2 separate regions of the Homo sapiens genome follow, and region 1 is linked to region 2. The links are contacts of gene promoters, found by promoter capture Hi-C in blood cells and fetal thymus (Javierre and others, 2016). All regions are on one chromosome and are shown on one strand. The core of a region is centred on a gene start or on the middle of the fragment in contact, and the rest is flanking DNA. Distances in the headings are between cores, read along the strand shown.

What was found. Contacts are between HindIII fragments. The CHiCAGO score rates a contact against its expected background, and 5 or more counts as called.
Region 1: a contact is called between a fragment that was not itself captured here and the fragment with the promoter of WDR17 in region 2, in 1 of 17 cell types (monocytes). The highest score is 5.3, in monocytes.

What each region holds. Positions count from the first base shown.
Region 1 is chr4:176,116,407-176,120,594 of GRCh38, forward strand. WDR17 (WD repeat domain 17) reads left to right here. Exons shown (of 29, transcript NM_181265.4): 4 at 3,461-3,691. Among named protein-coding and RNA genes, the nearest start is that of WDR17, 53 kb to the left of the region's middle. The HindIII fragment of the contact is 938 bases long and covers 1,408-2,345 here.
Region 2 is chr4:176,063,468-176,067,386 of GRCh38, forward strand. It overlaps WDR17 (WD repeat domain 17), which reads left to right and starts at 2,374. Exons shown (of 29, transcript NM_181265.4): 1 at 2,374-2,612. RefSeq lists a silencer at 2,250-2,629. The HindIII fragment of the contact is 5,440 bases long and covers 1,228-3,919 here.

The DNA of each region.
Region 1 (4,188 bases), core at 627-3,126, 52 kb after region 2:
TAATTTGGTCAAGGTAGAACATCCTCATTCACATAAATTGGACTTTATGAATTGGAATAATAGCATTATACTCTTTCTACTTAGAATTGGGAACTCGCATTTAATCTTATCCCATCATAATGGTAAAGTTAAGTAATAATTATTCTGTGTTCAGTGTCACAATAATTAACTCTCTTTTTGAGCACCATATTTAGCTCAATTGATTATGGTTTTGAAAGCTACTGCTAGATATGTTTTTCAATTCAGCTTCTTCTCTAAAAATAATTGTTATAAATTTGAGATATAAAACTGGACATGACAATCTCACTAACCTTATTTTGTTCAAATTTCTTTGTAATAGTCTAAGGCAAAAATACTGGGAATTTATAGGCAATTATCTTTAAATTTTGTTTCCATAATAATAGTAAAATAATATCTTTTGTAACTTTTAGACATATTTGATATTTTTAGTATTTTGGTTTGTCTTTTCAAATTTAGGTCATTAAGAATGCTTAAAATATCAGTGTAATACATAAATTTTATTACTCAACTGTTAAAGATATTTGTCAAATGAAGTTAATTTTCAACTAGAAGTATATGGATCTCATTCCCAAGTTTATGTACCCTGTTTTTTATTTTTACTTAGAACAACCAATGTATTAGACAGTGAGTAATGTTTGCCCCAATCTCTGAACAAAATATTGTAAAAAGTCAGCTATTCGGTGAGCTTCCATTAATGTAATTAGCAATTTTTCTTAAGGCTTTCCATGAGAAAAAAACAAATTATTTTGGCACAATGCTTTGTGATATATAAATTGTGATTGATGGCCTCAATTAAGACTTTTCATATCTCCCCATGTTTTCTGGTCATATCTGTTTGTCCAGCAATCACAAATTCTATAGGTTACTCCATTACTGTTTATATTGATTGATAATGCATTTCCAAGTACTTTAAATCCAGCTTTGTGTGAGATTAATTTTAAATAACACAACAAATTTTTCTTGAAATTCTTTCCATATTGTATGTGCCATAAACTAAAATGTTGCACGATATTATTGTTCTCGTAAAGATGTAACACAAAGTCAACGTTAGGTTATAACTGCATATAATAAACATAAATTCTAAATGTTTTGCAGAAGTAATGATTAATTTTATTATCACCTAGTGTATCCATGGATTTATCATCAGACACTATATACATCACATCCATTCATGGGGGAAGATTTTATTTATTCATCAGCTATATGCACCATAGTTTCTTTTGTCACTGGATATACAACTAAATAATACTTTCTAATTAACAGTCCCAGAATGATGAGATAATTGTGGAAAGCTTTTGGCAAATTTTTCATGTTTTTCCTTTCTTTGAAAATTTTCAGCTATCAATATCTCCCTCATCCAAATGTCTTCTTAATTTGAAGATTGAAAGCTTTGCTATTTTATTTGCAAAAAAATTATGACTATTTTTGGTGATTTCCATCTTAAGTAACACTTTTGAAATGTTTTAGGCTTATTTTTCTTTTTAGAATCCAGCTTAAGCAAAGTAGAAATTTGCATTAAGTGAACTTTTTTTTTCAACTTCCAAATACAGTTGTTGAATTTGATCTTGCCTCTGTATTTTTACTTCTTCTTCCTTTTGTTTCTAATAATCTAACAATCCATTTAAATGAAAATGCATATTAGTTTTTCCAAATGTAAAATGTAAAAATTGTCACCAACTTGAAAAAGTCACTTTATGTCACAGTGGATAATAATACTACCTACCTATCTCAGAATAGTGTTGGGAGAATTAAATTGCAACACTCCTTGAAAGTGCTTGTACATAAGTCACTATAAAAGTGTTTTCTATTATTATTATATGACACTGTTTCTGGTCCTTTCGCTTTCCTTGCTGTCTTTCTCTAAATATACAGTCGGAGAACCAGTATTCTATTGTCTTTCCTCTACTGTGCTGTGGTGGTTTGATCCATACAGAGTACCTCATCTCTTTTTTGGGTAAATTCTACTTCTGTTAATGTATCCTAAAACCATATCAACTATTTTACTGGCGTTTTTCATGTATACATTCATTCATTCAGCAAATATTTATGGAGTCCTCATTATGGGTCAGGCCCTGAAGTAGGCATTAGGCTTTGTTTTTGCCTCTTGGAGCACATAGACTGTTAACACAAACTAAACTTACTGTCAATCAGCGAATTTCCACTCTGTGTCTTTGTTCATATCATTTTCTCTTCCTGGGAAATACTGCTTATTCCATGTATTTAAACTCTACCCCTCCTTCTAGGTATAATTCAAATCTAATTTCTTTCCAGGACAGTAGCACAGTGGTTTCTAAACCTTTCTGCATATCAAAATCATTTGATGAAGCTTGTTAAAAATAAATTCCTGTGAAACCTCGTCTCTACTAAAAATACAAAAAAAAAAATTAACCGGGCATGGTGGCGGGCGCCTGTAGTCCCAGCTACTCGGGAGGCTGAGGCAGGAGAATGGCATGAACCCGGGAGGCGGAGCTTGCAGTGAGCCGAGATTGCATCACTGCACTCCAGCCTGGGCAACAGAGCAAGACTCCGTCTCAAAAAATAATAATTATTATAAAATAAATAAATAAATAAATTCCTTGGCTCAAACTCCACATGATCTGATATGTTATATTCCATTTCATGATTTTGATGCAGCCAGCTAATATATCAGTGTTGGAAGATGTGCAATCTCTCTCTCATAAATTTCTCATAATACTTATTTTATATATGATTTATTTGATCACAATAGCAGGTATATTAACAATTAACTTTTATATTCCATCTTATTGATGGAATGTAAATGTACCTTTACATAAATGATTTTATTTCCTTGACTTTCATGTGAAATAAGTGGTCAGCTATTTTTATTGTTATCTCCATTTTATAGATGAGGAAACAGAAATTTAGAGAAATAAAATGACTTGTTTTTCTGAGGCAAGGCTTAGATTTGAATCTAAATTCCTGATAAGACATAGATTATAACATTAAGTCCATTGTTTTTAAATCCTTATAGTAGCATTTATATTTTTATTCACTAATCCCTGTCTCCCTAACACACATTTAAAATTCTCTAAAGCAGGAATCTTATCCCACACTACCTTGTATACCTAGAATGCCTAGAGGTCTTATATACAAATACACAGTAAGAATGTATTGCTCTAATCTTTAATATATAGTCTACTAAAATAAAAAAGTCTATAAATGTATTTGACTATATGAAGCAAATGATCATGTAAGTAGTATTTAAACCTAACTAGATACATTTTCTTTCATCATGGACTTTCCCTGCCTATGTTCCCTGCAGTCTTTGGGATTTCTTTATAAATCCAATTCCCAAATAAGAAAGTAATGTATCTTAAAAATAATAATTTGTTTTAGAAATGTAAACAGGGCAAGTAATATTTAATGGTGTAATCTTATGCTGTATCTTTATTATGTATCTGTATTTAATGTATTCCAGGGATCCCTGCTTCTCTTAGTTGGTGCTGGAATGCAGAGGATGTGGTGGCATTTGTTTCCCACAGAGGCCCACTGTTCATTTGGACCATCTCAGGACCAGATAGTGGAGTGATTGTACACAAAGATGCTCATAGCTTCTTGTCTGATATCTGTATGTTCAGATGGCATACACACCAAAAGGGGAAAGTTGTGTTTGGTCATATTGATGGAAGTCTATCAATTTTTCATCCAGGTAAGAATTTAATTAGCAAGGTATCTTAAATAGTATATTTTTCTTATATATAATTTTGTACTTGCTTGGTCTTTCTAGTGACCAGTCCCCATTGTGAATAAAACCAAAAGTGACAAAATTTTAATTTTGATATTATTATTGTTAAAATGTTACCCAGTATTGTACTGAGTCTAAATATTCATTTGAAGTTTTATATATATATATATATATATATATATATATAATACATTCAACACAGCTGTGAATATTTTACTTGGAATTAACCTAAATCAGTCATTTTTCCCTTATTTGTATTTTTAATCAATTCTTTATTTCTGTACATTTACTAAAAAACAACCTGAATGAACAAGGACATACAGCTAGAGGATGTGATGGTTTACTAATACTAAATATTTTCCCATCTGCTTGTAAAAATACCATTCTGATGCCACGGCTCCTTGGCAAAGGCTTTGAAACTGGCATAAAAGAAAAATGATAACCCTTTGAACCCCTGTTAG
Region 2 (3,919 bases), core at 1,124-3,623:
TTATAAATTAGGTATATTGTTCCTCTAGATCTAATCTAACTATAGTTGTGATTATTTAAATCTGTTCAAAAGGAATGAACTAAATTCTGGTAAAGGAATAAGAGTCCTGAACTGGGAGACCGGGATCACTCTATCAAAATCTGCTGCTAATATGACTGGAGATTTAAACACCTTCATCTTTAAATTATGAGTGCACAACTAGATAATTTCAGTTGTCTCATTCAATTTTATGTTTCTTTCTTTTTCCTTTTTCTTTTTTTTCTTTTTTTTTTTTGAGACGGAGTCTCACTCTTGTCACCCAGGCTAAAGTGCAGTGGCGCAATCTCCGCCTTCTGGGTTCACGCCATTCTCCTGCCTCAGCCTGCCGAGGACCTGGAAGTACAGGTGCCCGCCACCACGCCCAGCTCATCTTGTATTTTAGTAGGAACGGGGTTTCACCACCACGCTGCCGTCAAACTCCTGACTTCAGGTGATCCGCCCACCTCGGCCTTCCAAAGTGCTGGGATTACGGGAGTGAAACACCGCGCCCGGCCGGTTTTTTGTTTCTTAACTGGAGAGCTGGAGCCATTATGAGCAAAATAAACATAAAAGATTTTTTCCGTCCAACCGATGGACTAAGCTAGACGTTGTATCTTCAGCATTTTCTCTTCATGTACACCATTGACTATTCAGCACTATACCTAGCAAATATCAGTCATAAATGAAAACTATAGTCTGTTTTCACAGAAATGTTTCTTGTGATTTTCCCTCTTCGCTATTCTTATTTTCATTGTCTTAACTCAGGTCATCAGCATCTTTTCCCATGAACTACTGAATTTTTCTCCTAACAGACCATGTTCTTCATCTTCCTGCATCCCATGTATCTCCAATGTTTCCAAGGTGTCTTTCTTGATGAAAAAGCACTGATTTTATAAACTTCAATCTCTTCCTTTGGTTTAGAGGTTAAAGCCTAACCCATATATAGAATTCTGCATCTTTCCCAATCAAGTTTTCTTATTTTTCTAGTACAGTCTTTTGCCAATTTCCATCTTCCTTCTTATCTTTGGATTCACATCCCCAACTCCGGAGAAGGCAAAAACATCAAATTTATTTACATCAATCGTTTATTTTTTCCCACTTTATGCTTTTGGCAATGCTGCTCCTGCTGCATAGTATACACTTTCCCCTTTTTATCAGGTGAAATTCTACCTATTTATAAGTCCCTGCTCAAATACTAATCATATTGAAAGCTTCTCTGAATACCTTGGAAGAAAAAGTTCTGCCTCCCTCATCTGAAATCATCTCATAGCACTTTTATGTAACCCTATTTTAGTACTTAACACATTGAGTTATATTTAGTTATTGCCCTTATACTTTCTCTGGTAGATTATGTGCTAATTTCTTTCTTTCTTTATCCATCTATCCATCAAGAATTAATTGAAGACCTGCTATTCATCAGATACTTTGTTAGAATATAGGGGACGGAGTTGTAAGAACTGATTTTAGCTTTAACAAGTTTATTCTTTATATGGAAATCCAACATTTAAGTTAATTTTAATTTACAATATAGAATATTGAGTGCTGTGGTAGGTACTCGTCTCTGCAGAGAATATTTTGGAAAAAAGGAGCATTAAAATCTACTGCATAGGAAGGTAAGAATTAGGCCCAGGGACTTTCTCTGGTTGAGGTCGACCATTCATTTATTAACTATTTAGAGTGGAGTATAATTAATTCTCGATAGATGTCATTAAATACACTTTGTTTCGAGTACGTCGAGGCTTATTCTCTCTAGTGTGTTGGATAAAGGCCACAGGTAGTGAAGATATTTCAGAGATGTGAAGAATCCAGTAGGAATGACAACATCCAGCACTTCCATTCAACCAGATCCCACAGGGAAAATGTCAGTTTTGTGAAGGCAGATACATTAACCACATACAACTCGATTAATATAAACAAATAATCTTATCCATTGAGCTCTCCCACAGACCTTCTTGGGCCCAATCAGACAATAATGAAGTGCAGGCGAGACAGCATTCTGCACTCACATTCCAGGCACTGGTTCAAGTCCCTCCTCCAGGTCCCTCAAGAAAGAGACAGGATGACTGACTTACTGTATATTTGACTCATTTTCCTAGAAAGTGCAGACTCGCTATAAAATGTGTTAGGTGGTGAGAACGCTGATGGTTCACCGTTTTCCTCCACTTTCAGCCTCAGTGCAAACCCTCTGCCCAAAGCCTCGCTCCAGTACGGAGGAGCTGCGCCTTCAACACACTTTCTCTGTTGCCAGGTAACCACTTCTCCCTCAGCCTAGTCTCCAAGGGTCACGAGCCACTTCCGCCTCCCCCTCTCGGGCGCTCCAATCAGCGACCTGTGTAGCTGTCACGTGGGCCTCTGGGGCAGACCCTGGAGATCGGGCTCGCGGCGCCTTCCATCGTGGCTCCGCGCTGGGGCTTGCGGAGCACGCTTCCCGCCCCTCGGAGCCCGCGGGCCCGGCCGCCCCGCCCCCGGGCGCCCTGAGCGAGCAGGCGGGGAGGGCGGGGAGGGTCCGCGCGTTGGTGGTGCTCGCCTCGCAGCTGCGCCCGCCGGCTTCAGCACCTTCCGCTGTCCGCCGCTGCAGCCGCCTCCTCCTCCAGGTAAGAAGCCGGTGGGGCCGCAGAGATACCAAGGCAAGCTCAGGATTGATGTGGGTGATGCTGGAACTGTCGCGGCGTCATGCGAGAGGGGCTCTGACCTCCCTGTGATCGCGGACCAGGGTAATGTACGTCCTGCAGGGCTTTGCACACCATGGTGCCTGATGAGATAATCAACTGAGTTTTAGAGCCACACACCTGATTCTTACAAGGCACAGCAAGCAGCGAATATTTATGTATCTAAACTACCATTGCAGTGTAAACTGTGGACATTTCGAGGGACATTGTTTTATTTTTATGGCTATTAAGTATATGTCTAGAGCCTAGGTTGCTGTTCTCATCCCTCCGCCGGCCAGACACTTCTGTATAGATCATTTACCCCTTTGAAGATGGACTTATTAGTAGGGTTGTACTAAGAAAGGTTTGAGTAAAAAGGAAATGCGTTCCAGAAAAAAGACGGTATTGGATATAAGGCAGGTATACTATTTATTAAGTAGATCGTAAAATAGAATCTTTGCTGTCCTCCCCTCTCCAAAATCAGACTTGTTTTGCTTGCAAAGATTGAAAGGAACAAACAATTTAAGGAGACTTTTTAAATATATTAATTAAAAGCAATTGATTCGAATGAAAAGTAATGAAAAGTCCGACCATGCATCAAAAATAAATTATTTTGCATATTAATATATACATATATACTATATATATTTAACAAGGGTTTGAAGAGAGATACTACATTTCTGAATCTTTCATAAATACCCTTTAGAGAAAACTATCAAAAAAACACAAGTTCGTTGTAAAAGGATACGAAACGGCCAAAGCCCAACAATGTGAGATTATAGTTGCCGTTCTTAGCACTCTAATAACATTTCTGCGTTGTAAAAATTAGAAAATAAATGACAATGAATTTATGAGAATTTATAAATTTGAACTCCACAAGAGTTTAAGCATTAATTTATTTGTAGATTTATGCCTTATCATTACCCTGCTTGCCAGGAGCTGATGCTGGGCGGGTGGTGAAACAAACTCTGTGGAGAAAGCACTCTTACATCCTTTTGAGATTCTGCCTCACTGGCCTAAGTGTTCAAGAAAATGGATATAGTTATATCTAACTGTTTTGAAGGCAGACGTCTGAGATAGGTGGTCTGAGAACCTTTCCCCTCCTATCATCTAAAATTAAATATAGTTATTAAGTGCTTTTGAAAAGTTGTCAATTCGTTAATATTTTGGGAAACATCCTTTACTGGATTGTTTGGAGATTAATGTTACAAATGGTAGCTTTAGAGTTCCTGGGAAGTTTTAAAGCAATGACT